2 separate regions of the Homo sapiens genome follow, and region 1 is linked to region 2. The links are contacts of gene promoters, found by promoter capture Hi-C in human tissues and cell types (Jung and others, 2019). All regions are on one chromosome and are shown on one strand. Each heading gives the region's core, a stretch centred on a gene start or on the middle of the fragment in contact. The rest is flanking DNA. Distances are from core to core; before and after follow the strand shown.

The links. The method cuts DNA at HindIII sites, captures the fragments that hold promoters and counts their contacts. A contact is called where the count stands out against the background at its distance.
Region 1: a contact is called between a fragment that was not itself captured here and the fragment with the promoter of ETFA in region 2, in 2 of the 25 tissues and cell types used here (heart left ventricle and lymphoblastoid cells).

The regions. Positions count from the first base shown.
Region 1 is chr15:76,858,042-76,864,902 of GRCh38, forward strand. SCAPER (S-phase cyclin A associated protein in the ER) reads right to left here. Exons shown (of 32, transcript NM_020843.4): 3 at 4,375-4,492. Among named protein-coding and RNA genes, the nearest start is that of SCAPER, 44 kb to the right of the region's middle. The HindIII fragment of the contact is 5,107 bases long and covers 1-3,891 here.
Region 2 is chr15:76,306,776-76,313,377 of GRCh38, forward strand. ETFA (electron transfer flavoprotein subunit alpha) reads right to left here and starts at 4,694. Exons shown (of 12, transcript NM_000126.4): 1 at 4,575-4,694. The coding sequence starts at 4,613. RefSeq lists enhancers at 3,946-4,446, 4,447-4,947, 5,157-5,206, 5,267-5,316. The HindIII fragment of the contact is 24,969 bases long and covers 1-6,602 here.

The DNA.
Region 1 (6,861 bases), core at 88-2,587, 550 kb after region 2:
ATGGTCAGTATAAACCGATATAATTAAAACAACAACAACAACAAATTTCCAAAGTCCCAGAGACTGCTATTATTGAATACCTTTCTCTGAATAGGAATAAATCAACATCTTAAAGAAGTCAGATACTCTGACAACTTTTAAAAACAAAGTCCAGTTACTGGTACTCCTCAACTTGTATATAAATCTGGAAATAGTTCTTTAAGTTCAAATTTCATTTCAACAATAAAATTAAGACTATATGTTTTCTATATAAAACCCCAATATTTTGTTTTATCTGATATATGAAATGCACAATTTCACTGCGAAAAGTGAGGTTTCAGTTCTTTATATTTTTTCACTCATTCTTTTTTATAAGAAAGACACCAACTACTGTTTTGTAATTACTATTCTCAACAGCAATTCAAAACAGAAATAAAATTCTTTTTTTTTTCTTTTATTTTAGGTACAGGGGTACATGTGCAGGTTTGCTATACAGGCAAATTACGTTTCACAGGGGTTTGGTGCACAGATTATTTTGTCACTCAGGTAATTAGCATAAGTAACTGATAGGTAGTTTTTCAATCCTCACTCTCCTCCCACCCTCTACCCTCAAGTAGGCCCTGTTGTCTTTTGCTCCCTTCTTTGTGTCCATGTATATGTACTCAATGTTTAGTTCCCACTTATAAATGAGAACGTGCAGTTTTTGGTTTTCTGTTCTTGCATTAGTTCACTTAGGATAATGATCTCCAGCTCCATCCATATTGCTGCAAATAACATGATTTCATTCTTTTTATGGCTACGTAGTAGTCCATGGTGTATATATGTACCACATTTTCTTTATCCAGTCTACCATTGATGGCCATTTAGGTTGATTCCATGTTTTTGCTGTTGAAAGTAGTGCTGTGATGAACATACACATACATGTATCTTTATGGTAGAACAATTTATATTCTTTGAGTATATACTCAGTAATTAGACTGCTGGGTCAAATGGTAGTTCTGTTTTCAACTCTTTGAGTAATCACCAAAAGTGCTTTCCACAATGGCCAAACTAATTTACATTCTCACCAGCAGTGTGTAAGTGTTCCTTTTTCTCTGCAACCTCTCCAGCATTTCAAAATAGGAATAAAATTCTATAATGTATAACAGAATAATTTTCCTTTCTGCAAAGTAATTTTGGGGCCAGGTCCCCTGAAGCAATATAAGTGAGCCATAACACACAGGTACCTAACTATCAACTTATCTGACATAAGTGGGACACCCTCACTGTTCCACCAGGGGTAAAGGGAGAGAATGCTACACTAACCTACAGAGCCACATCCTTTAATTATAAAAAACAATCTACCAGCAAGTTTTCTTAGAATATCCAGCAGAAAAACCAGCTTAGAATAAGCACAAGCTGTAATGTACCAGCAGGTTTTTAGAATATCCAGCAGAAAAACCAGCTTAGAAACAGAAATAATACAAAGCAGAGAACTTTTTTTAAGTGGAATTATCCTCAGAAACACCTAAGTATATATTGTAGTCATAAAACAAGAACAAGCTGCTATTAAAAACTTAGTCTTTAATTGCCTATATGTGGCAAAGTTTTAACAATATAAAATAATCCTTAACAAAAATTGTAAATGTTAATATTCTTCTTTTGTCATCATTACTACAGATATTCAGAAAGTTCTAATTATCTGTGCTTACAGTTTTTTGGGTTTTGTTTTGTTTTGTTTTGTTTTTTTGAGACAGAGTCTCACTCTGTCCCCCAGGCTGGAGTGCAGTGGCGCGATCTCGGCTCACTGCAACCTCTGCCTCCCAGGTTCAAGCCTCCCGGGTAGCTAGGATTACAGGCACCCACTGCCATGCCCCGCTAATTGTTTTGTATTTTAGTAGAGACGAGGTTTCACCATGTTGCCCAGGCTGGTCTCGAACTCCTGAGCTCAGGCAATCCACCTGCCTCAGCCTCCCAAAGTGCTAGGATTACAGACGTGAGCCACTGCGCCCAGCCTGTGCTTACAGTTTTATTGTTACAATAGTCACAAATGAAGCTTTAAAATTGTACTGGCCAATTATTTATGTTCTTGTATGAAAAATCGGGTTATGTACAGATGTTTGATTATTATATTTTCTTTCCTTTGTTTTTTGAATAGAAACAACTTTAATAGAAACACCTTTGAACTATTTTGTGTTCAGAATAACCCATGGAAAATGAGAGAATACAATTTCATATAAAAATATTTATAATATACAGAATTTTTTTTACTTTTGTAATAAATCATGTTGATATGTACTTTTATCAAAGAAATGAAGTAATAGCTCCTTGTGGAAAGATTAGCTGTTAAGAAGCTGAATTTCAAAAGATAAATCCAATTTTCCCCTCTATTTGATAGTTTTTGTGATTCAAAACAATGTTCTCTAAAAATAGCTAGGAAAACTGAGAAAGAAAAGCTACAGGGGAAGACAGGTCCAAGCAGGCATTTAAAAATACTATAATGCCTCCATAATTAAAATAGTATGACACACATGAATTAGGTAAACAGACTAGTAGAATGGAATACATATGGAAATTCACTCTACAGAAAAGGTGGAATCAAAAATAACTGGGGCAAAGATAAACTTTATAACAAGTTATGCTGAGGCAACTTGTTAGCTATAAGGAAAAAGATAAAATTAGATCCGTACCACACACTATATGTAAGAATAAACTACAAATGGATCAGAGGACCAAATGTAAAAAAGATAAAGATTTAAAACATTCTTTAAAGAAAATTTTAAATAAAATAAAATGTAAACATAAATTTAAGAGAATAAAACAGGTGAATTCTTGTTTAGCTTGAAACATCTTGTGTAAAGATGTTCTCAAAGAATGGAAACATGATTAGAACATGTAAGGAACAGGAGCCAAGTTAAAGGGTCTCCCATTTGAAAAATTGAGAAGAATTTAAGCATCAAAATAGAGTAACTGTACCCCATTAAATACCATAAGAAGCCATGAGTCCACACAAACTGAAAATATAAATACATACATAAATACATACATACATAAAAATAAAGAGGAGATGGTAAAGCTCTTCCTTATATTAGAAGGCTAACAAATGCAGAAGGAATGATGGAGTTGTTAACAAATCACCACTTTGCAACCACCAGAGGTATAACATAAGCCAAGGATTATCAATAGAAGCTAAAAAGTAGTGAGTGTACTGTTTCAACAAAAACAGGATATTTACATAGTTTCAAACTATCTTACCACAAATTACTCATTAGTTACATAGGAAAAAATTAGTTACTTTACAGTAGAGAAATTTGGCAGACAACACTTAAAGCAATTGATTAAATTAACGAGACAGTTATCACGAACCTCCTCTGATAACTGAAAAGGACACATCATTTCTATAGAATTCCTACTAAAAACACCTACCTGAATCTAGTCATGAAAAGATACCAGACAAACCTAACTGTGAGGAATATTCTACAAGCTCTCAGAAAATTTCAAAGTGAGGTATGCCAACCTCCTGTCTTCTGTATCTCTATCCAATCTTCAACATCCTCAAAACAGTGGCTTCACACTGCCTCTAGCCATTAAAGGGAGGGTAGAGATGATTTTTTTTCTTGTTCAAATAATAATAATGAGAACTAAAGAAATATCTTCTATTTTCTAAAGTATTACATTAAATTGCACCTAATTATGGTAAATATGATTTTTAAAAAACCTCCTTTTATTTTTATAAGAATTTAATAAAAGAAAAAACCTAAATGTATTAGTCCATTTTCATACTGCTTATAAAGAACTGTCTGAAACCAGGTAATTTATAAAGGAAAGGGCTCTAATTGACTCACAGTTCAGCATGGCTGGGGAGGCCTCAGGAAACTTGCAATCATGGTGGAAGGAGAAGGGCAAGCAAGGCGCCTTCTTTACAAGGCAGCAGGAAGGAGAAGTACCGAGCTTAGGGGAAAGAGCCCCTTATAAAACCATCACATTTCATGAGAACTCACTCACTGTCACGAGAACAGCATGGGGGAAACCACCCCCATGATCCAATTACCTCCACTTGGTCTCTCCCTTGACACGTGGGGATTATGGGGATTATAATTCAAGGTGAGATTTGGGTGGGGAGACAAAGCCTAAACATATCACTAAATCTCTTATCACTTTAACAACCCCTAATCTGCTGGTCATAATAACACAATAAACCCAATTTCAAATTTCACTATTATCTGAAAAAGCAAAACTAACAATAAGGCTTTTATAAAACCATGTGTGTATAAAAGCAACAAAAAAGTATTTCTTATTTAACATACTAATCAGCCCTAGAAGTCTAATTGCAAACAGTTTTCAGTCTATCTCTTTAGGACTAAATACACCCTCCTTATTTACAACAAAAATGAAACTAATTTTTTAAATACATACCATCATCATCTTTGCTTTCTAGTGGAACACTCCAAGCTATTAGGTTTCTTGCTGTACGACCCTCCTCTGCAACTATTCTCCTTACTTTGTCATGACTATTGGAGCGCTGGAATGAAGCCTATGTATGGAAAAGATGGTACTTATTAGATTATTAGATAAGTCAAAATATATATTTAACAAAGTCATTATTTCTCACATTTTTCTCAGAAAGAAAACACTTAAAACTAATTTGGGATGTGGTGGGTGGTTAAACAGAGAAAAGGAAGTCACAAGTCTTTTTTAGATCTAAAAACACTGAGTTTTGTAACTCTAAAAAATAAACAAATTATTTAAATAATAAATATAATCTAAGGTTTGAAAAAGTGGCCTAAAGAGCACCAACACTGCTGTGGACTAATATCTGCACCATCCCTTACATATCAACAAGTCCAAGTGTGAAAGAGACCAGTTTTCACAAACATCCTATATATTTCCCCTAAAAGACCTCTTCAGCATAAAATATTTTGGAAAACGCTTTTTTTAATTCTCTAGAGATTGCGCTAAAGTAAGTCAACATTCCATTTTTAGCTACATAATTTTATCTCCAAGTTATCAGGATTCAAATAATAATTGCTGTTAACAGGTAAATTTAAATTGCAATTTTTAAAACTCAAACTATTGCACAGAACATACGTAATTTCTTGCTTGCTCTAGCCCTGCCTGGCCTAAGAACACGGGCCTAAGATTCAGCCCCACCAACACCCTGTGCCAGCTGGGAGCCAGGTCCAGTAAAATAAAGGAAATTGCCTCCCCACTAATGAATGTCATATCAAAATAGTCTGTTTTTATAAGCCAAGTATCTATGAGAAGAAAGAGATCATAAAACACCCATGTGAACACGAGGATGCAGCCTCCTTATCTAATCCTTAAATCTGTGTGGGAAACCTGCCTCTTTGTGAAACAAGTTCACCACTGGGCCAGCCCAAAATCCCAGTCCAATTAGTAGGTGCCTCCCTGCCCTCCTATAGTTCTTGCCAGCCTGGACTTTTAGCATTCCTGGAATCCTAAAGCGCAATACATTTAACGAGGCAATTACTATGTGCAAAAGCATCAAGTAAGAGACTGAGGAGAATATAAAGAAAAATATAAATATATAAAGTATTGTGCTTGTCCTCAAAGAGCTAACAATCCAAGTAAATGAAGCAAACATGTAAGAGTAAAAAATAATATATGAATTAACAAGTATGGTAGGTAGTCTTCAAAGATGCCTCCCTTGGCCCCAGAAAACCACACCTGCTGGTGTTCATGCCCTCATGTAATCCACTCCCCGTGAATATGCCTCTGTAACTTGCTTTCTGACCAATAAAATGCGGCAGAAGGGACACTGCATAACTTCTGAGACTAGGTCATCAGAAGCTTTGCAGCCTCCACCTGAGTCTCTTAGAATGCTCCCTCTTAGGGCAGTCACTCTTAAAATCCAGCTGTCATGCCATGAGAAGCCCAAGCCACAAGTAGAGAGACCACACATGGGCAGCACTCTGGTTGACAGGCCCTAGCTGAATTCCCAGAGGACAGCATCCTCTACCCACTGTGTGAGTGAGCCATTTTGGACATTCCAGCCCAGCTGAGCCCCTAGAAAACTGCTGCCATGCCAGTACCCAAGCCAACATCACATCACAAAAATCACCCAGTCAACTCACAGAATGAGATAATAGGAACTAGATGAATGCACCCTAACACACAATATACACACCTGGATCTATTTCTATACAGATATTAAAAACCGTGAGTTTATACTGATTGATTTCAATCCTAAGCCACGGGGCTCATTTTAGCCTTTCGCTTTGCTTGTCTGAAACTTCTTTCTCCAACATAAGATCCCCAGTTTTCATTATCTACAACTTATTTACTTATCTGTTCAATTCTAATATACACATAAAGTAGTTTCAAAGTTGCTAACCCATACTCCTATGAGAAACACATTTACTAACTACATTACAGCATTTACGTATGGTTCTTATCTTTAACCTTACAATATCCAAAGTACTGTTTGCCAAAATCATGTAATTAGTTCTCATCTTCACCTGGGAGTATGTTACTATTTGCCTTCCAGTTTGGATTCTCCCCACCCACTGGTTAATTTTTACTCTTTTGGGGAATATGTGAAGAAAAAGCAATACATTATTTTCAAATGAAGGAAATTAATGAGTAGCATCACTTCAGGGAAAGAAAAAAAAGTCACTATAGTACACTCTAGAGCAAGGGTCAGCAAAGATTTTCTACAAAGGGCCAGATAATAATTTTTTTTTTTTTATTTTAGGCTTTGCAGGCCATAAGACCTCTGTAACAACTACTCAATTTTGCCATTTTATGTGAAGCAGCCATAGTCAGTATGTAAACAAACAATGTGGCTGTATGGTAAGAAGCCAACTGTGAGATAAACAGACACATATTACTTGTCATTTTGAAATAAATTCAAATTACTAAAAAGTTATAAATTCACACAAA
Region 2 (6,602 bases), core at 3,444-5,943:
GTTATATGACATTGACTGTAATACTAAAAACACAGTCAATTTACTTCACTTTAAGAAAGGACAAGACTCTTAGTAGACACATTGGCAGGCATCATAATTTTACTGAATTCACCTTATGCAATAAATTTTCTTTTAGAATCACACCAAAATTGGCTCTCTTTCTTCTTTCAATAGAAATTAAAATTTGCATGCAAATTACAGAGTTCAATCTTATTCATCAATACTAGACAGAAAAGTGTCATGTTCCTTCACACCAGTTTCATAGCTTCTCAGTCCTGATAGATATTCCTTCCCACCTGACAATAAACACAGTAAAAAGAGTACTCAAATGACCTTGAAATTGTTGTTTCACTCACCACATAAATATTTTTCTGCATCTTCTTATTCTTCAATAAATCAATTTCAAGAGCAAATTAATAAATAACAATAATTAGGATTAATATCCCTGCAAGAATATTAACTAACTGCAAATGCCTACCTATTTGCCTCTTGGTGTGTTCTCTAGCTCTTTATTATAGATATAAAAACTATCTTTGTTAACAGATGACTTTAAAGACCATTGCCACACACATAAGGATGAAAGACTTTACTCAATGGCACAAATCAGTCAGAACTAAAAATGGAACTTAGATACCAAATGCAAGTCATTGAACTTATATCCTAATAGTTTAACAAAGTGGTTTAAAAGAATACATAAAATTTACCATCTTAACCTTTTTTTTTTTTTTTGAAACAGCGTCTCACTCTGTTGCCCAGGCCGGAGGGCAGTGGTGCTACCTGGGCTCAATGCAGCCTCAAATGCCCAGGTTCAAGCAAGTCTCGTGCCTCAGCCTCCCAAGTAGCTGGGACTACAGGTGTGAACCATGGCGCCTGGCTAATTTTTTTTTTGGTAGAGATGGGGTTTCGCCATGTTGCGCAGGCTGGTCTCGAACTCCTGAGCTCAGGTGATCCATCTGCCTCAGCCTCCCAAAGTGCTGGGATTACAGGTGTCAGCCACCATGGTTGGCCCCATCTTAACCATTTTTAAGTGTTAAGTGTTAACTATATGCACATCGTTAACAGTTTATGGTAATCTTTTAACTGTAATTCCTAACTTTATTTTTTTAAATATGGTTTTGGAAATGTATCCTCTTCCTAAATGCATTAATGGTTAGCTACAGAACATTTTTTTTTTAATTTCAAGAGTGGGGACTTGAGATAAGCTATTTTGACTTTGTGATATCACAAACATATATATGTAAACAAACAGGAGTCAGATTGAATGGGCCCCACTTTACAAACATGAGACAACTTCAGCATAAGGTAGAAATGTATTATCCTAAATAAGGATCCATGTATCCATAAATCCATAAATATGCAAGAAGATAATGTTCTTCCTTATAGTAGAATAACTAAAAAATGTACGAAGGTATCATGGAAATAGAAAATCACCATTTTGCATCATAGTAATCATTTCTCAGGCAAAAATCATCAACAGATGCTAAGACTGGGTAAAAGTCTGATGAGAAATAGGACAGTCACATAGTCTCAATGAATCGCCTCACAAATTAGTTAAAAATTACAAAAGGAGGAGTATTAACTTGACAGTGGAGAAACCTGGCAAACAACACTTTGGCTAAGTAACTAAAGTCAGCATTACCACTAATGGGATAAACCAACATTAAGTACCTGCTAATATGATGCACGGGGAACACAATACCACTTTTGTGATATTCCCACCAAGAATACATGACCTGAATCTAATCATGAGGAAACACCAGACAAACCCAAATTGAGTGACAGTCTGGAAAATAGAAGGCCTGTACTCTTCAAATACACCAATGTCATCAAACCCAAAGGAAGGCTGAGGAACCTTTCTAACAGAGTAAAGAGACATGAAAACCACTTGCAGGACATCTAGAGTATCTTAGACCAGAATAAGGAAAATTGCTATAAACTGTACTAATGGGACAACTGGCAAAATTGAACATCCATAGATTAGAAAACAGTATTTTATGGTGAAACTTCCAGATATTGCCAATTACAGTGTAGTTAGAAAGTGAACCTCTTTGTTCTTTTAAAATATCACTCAATTATTTAGGAGTAAAGGGCACATTTGCAACATACTTTCAAATGGTTCAGAAAGATAGTATTATGTATATATGTGGAAAGATAAAGCAAATGTGTCAAACTGCTAACATGCTGGGAAAACCAGGGGAAGGGTTTTGAGATTTCTTTGTACTATTCTTGCAACTTTTCTATAAGTGCAACTATTTCAAAATTTAAAAAGTTAAATACAGGTATATGTCCCTATTAATATATGGGTCCACTTTAGAAGTGTTGCCACCATTTCTTTTATGCTAGAAATCCAAATCTCTCCAACATTCTTAATGACTTTAAAACAGCTATTCTAGGCTGGGCGCGGTGGCTCACGCCTGTAATCCCAGCACTTTGGGAGGCCAAGGCGGGCGGATCATGAGGTCAGGAGATCGAGACCATACCGGCTAACACAGTGAAACCCCCGTCTCTACTAAAAATACAAAAAAATTAGCGGGGCGTGGTGGCGGGTACCTGTAGTCCCAGCTACTCAGGAGGCTGAGGCAGGAGAATGGCGTGAACCCGGGAGGCGGAGCTTGCAGTGAGCTGAGATCGCGCCACTGCACTCCAGCCTGGGCGACAGAGCGAGACTCCGTCTCAAAACAAACAAACAAACAAACAAAAAAAACAGCTATTCTACTTAGCTTGACTTCAAATTTTAAAAATAAGTCAAGGTCAAAGTCTTTGGCAAACCACAATGAATATCTGGAAGTAATGTCTATACACATTAGCCAACGATGTGGATAGTAAAAATTACTTAATCATTCCATTTTTTTCTGTTAGCTCTACAAAATTACTGAGTCCTAAATTCCATCCCCCACCACAATTATAATTTCACTTAGGCCAGACTTGTAATCTGTCCACAAAACTGTTTTCCAACTGCTGCATAGAGCAGCATTCTTCTGGCTCAGGTTCCTGGAATTTCCCCAAATTCATGATTTTCACTTGTTTATGTCTAGATCCCCAACCGGGAGAAAACATGTCCTGAGGGGAAGACAGGACACTAACCTGAAAGACATGGGTTTGAACTCTTTAGGGGAGGGGAGGGTCAGAACTTTTTATTAAACAAGGAATACGCACAAGAAAAAAGATGTCTAAGGCCAGGTGCGGTAGCTCAGGCCTGTAATTCCAGGACTTTGGGAGGCCGAGGCAGGTGGATCACTTGAGGACAAGAGTTCGAGACCAGCCTGGGTAACATGGGGAAACCCCGTCTCTACAAAAAAAAAAAAAAAAAAAAAAAAAAAATTAGCCAGGCGTGATGATGCGCACCTGTGATCCCAGCTTCTCGGGAAGCTGAGGTGGGAGAATCGCTTGAACCTGGGAGGCGACGGTTGCAGTGAGCCCATATCGTGCCACTGCACTCCACTCCAGCATGGGAAACAGAGCCAGACCTTGTCTCTTAAACAAACAAACAAACAAACAAACAAAAGTCTAATGTCTACAGACATCTAGAAAGAGCTCCAGCTATGCCTCAGAGAGAAAAATCCCAGGAGTGGATGGGAAAATATCCATGCCCAGAAAAAAAAAAAAAAAAAAAAAAAGGAGAAAAGGTACAAACCATCAGGTAAGTTTCTGACCCAAGTTTACCAATCTTGTTTCTCATTTCACCTAAATGTAAACTAGGAAAACTACACAATCCACAATATAAATTATTGTTACTTGACTTGTGACTGGTCAGTCTCCAAATACTCCTTTCCCACAGCATGAGAAGGAAAATATGTTTCCTATCAGTCCTTCTCACAACAGAAGAGAGAAATGTGGTTTGTCACTAATGAAACACTGAAAATGTACCACTGTCACCAGTTAACCTAATCTACAATCTGCTGGTTAAAAGCAGGTCAGCCTGAAGCATATAAAAAGACGTCTGCCTTTCAAAACTGGCTAAAGCTGTCAAATCGGATCGCAGGTTTTACAAATACAATCACCTAAATTCAGCCCTGCTCCATAAACCAGAAAGCAGAACCAGCTTCCATAACTGGCCACGCAGCCTCCCACCCCACCCCACCCCCGCCCTTGACAGTGAGTGGGTCGGAGTAGCCACGATGCGCCCAAAGTGTTTAATTCTTCCAGAAATGCCGGCCTCCGGGAGGAATCTAGGTTTGAAACTTTCCCCAACAGGGCATTCCCCGGTGACATTTTGCTCCCTCGGGTGTGGAGCAAGTGTGGAGGACCTGGCGGCCCGAAAGTGCCCAGAGTGACCGACAAAGGTGGGAAACGGCAGGGCAGAGAGTGGGCCAGAAGAAGGGGCAGCAGACGCGCAAATTCACATCATTCGGGGTCACCCTGACCCCAAACCTCTGACTTCTGCCCCGAACTGGCGTTCCGCAGGGAGTCCAGGGTAGGCCCCAGAACTTTGGACCCAAGTCCCAGGCGGGGACCGGCCTGCGGGCGCGAGGGCTGGTCGAATCTGAGGGGGCCAGTGATCTTTGCAAGACCCCATAGGGACGGCGGGTTGACGGGGGGCCGTCCCTGGGTTCGCCTTCCCAGTCCGGACTCACCGCCCGCCGGAGCTGCCCCGGAGCCGCCGCTCGGAACATGGTCTCCGCTTCCGCCGCAACCTCGGCCTTACAGCAGCCCCGTGCCCGGCCAACTGGCGCCGCCTCAGCCAGTCACCTAATGCTCGCGAGACGCGCGAACGAGATAAGACGCCCTAGGCCGGGAGCACGAGCCCGCGGTTTCCGCCTGCCCATTGGGCGGCTGCGCAGCCAATAGACGGCGGGAAGTTAGGGGCTAGACTGGGAAGTGGGGCAAAGGTGAGGCTATTCCCCGGGGACCTTCGAGTAAGCCCGGGCCGCGGAGCGGCAGAGACAAAGCTGGCCACCCGCTGATGACCGAGCTCAGACTGTACTGTCTCACAGCCCCGCAATGGTCAGCACTGCTAGAGTGAACTTCAAAACTGAGCTGACCTCGGGGTAAGGTACGAGTGGAGCCTTGCCAATTCCAATTAGATACCTTTCCTATATGCCCCTATTTCCCCCTGTATTTCCCCATGGTAGCAATTGTCACATGGGTTGTAATAACCTAAGTACTTGTCTGTGTCACCCATCTGACTGAAGATCTGTAAGGGCAGAAAGTATGCCCTTTTTTTTTTTTTTTTTTTTGAGAGAGAGAGAGTCTCCCTCTGTCACCCTGGCTGGAGTGCAGTGGCGCGAGCTCAGCTCACTGAAAGCTCCGCCTCCCGGGTTCACTCCATTCTTCTGCCTCAGCCTCCCGAGTAGCTGGGACTACAGGCGCCCGCCACCACGCCCAGCTAATTTTTTTGTATTTTTAGTAGAGACGGGGTTTCACAGTGTTAGGCAGGATGGTCTCGATCTCCTGACCTCGTGATCCGCCCGCCTCGGACTCCCAAAGTGCTGGGATTACAGGCGTGAGCCACCGCGCCCGGCCAGTATGCCCTACTTTTAAATTTTGTGTCTACCTGCAACACCTAGCACAATGCCTGGTCCATACTAGGCATTCAATCAGTATGTGTTGAATGAATAAGCAAATGAATAAATGACTGCTAATGAGTCTGGACTTTAACACGAAATTTTTAAGAGGGAAGTGGTATGTTCAGAAATTGTCTCAATTCCCAATTCAGCAACAACCTACCTTTCCAATGTTATCTAGTCTATCAACAAATCCCGTTGACTCTACCTTCAAAAGATAACCAGAATCCAGCAATATCCTCCAACACCCCTTTGCTCCTCTGCTGGTATCACCTTCACTCAGGACCCTGTCCTCTCTCGCCTGGATCATTGCAAAGCCTCCTAACTGGTCTTTCTGTTTCTGCCCATGTTTCCAGAAGCCTCTTCTCCAAACTGATGGACTGATCATGACCTCTGCTCAAAGCCCTATGGTGGCTCCCTCTCCTCCCACTGCCCTCTTCTCTCACTGTTCCCCAGATACATAGGCCTTCTTGAGCACACAAGCCTGCTCCTCTCAGAGTTTTGCACTCTGGCTCTTCCCTCTGCCTGAAATGGCCTTCTCTTGTTACCCGCGTGGCGTACTTCCTCACTTCATTCAGGTCTCTGCTCAAAAAACACATTTGCAGAAAGGCCGGCCTTAGCCTCTCCACCTAAAATAGCACCCATGCCACTCCCAGACGCCCTATCACCTTGTTTGATTTTTTTTCTTGGCATTTATCACTGCCTAACAGGATGCACATGTTTGTTTATTGCTGATCTCACTGCATTGGAGTGTAAATTCCCTGAAGCAAGAGCTTTGTCTGAACTAACAAGCACTCTAAGGGCCTTGCGCTTTTGCTCTTCCCTCTGTCTGAAATTCCCTTCCCCATCTGACAGCCCTCTTTAAAACCCAGATCAAGTGACAATTCTTTTGTTCTGTTTAAGACAAGGTCTCACTCTGTTTCCCAGGCTGGAGTGCGGTGGTGCCATCACAGCTCACTGCAGTCTCGAACTCCTGGGATCAAGCAATCTTCCTGCCTCAGCCTCCCAAGTAGCTGGGACTACAGTCATGTGCCACCATGCCCAGCTATTTTTTTTTGTAGGGGCAGGGTTACCCAGGGCTGGTCTCGAACTCCTGGC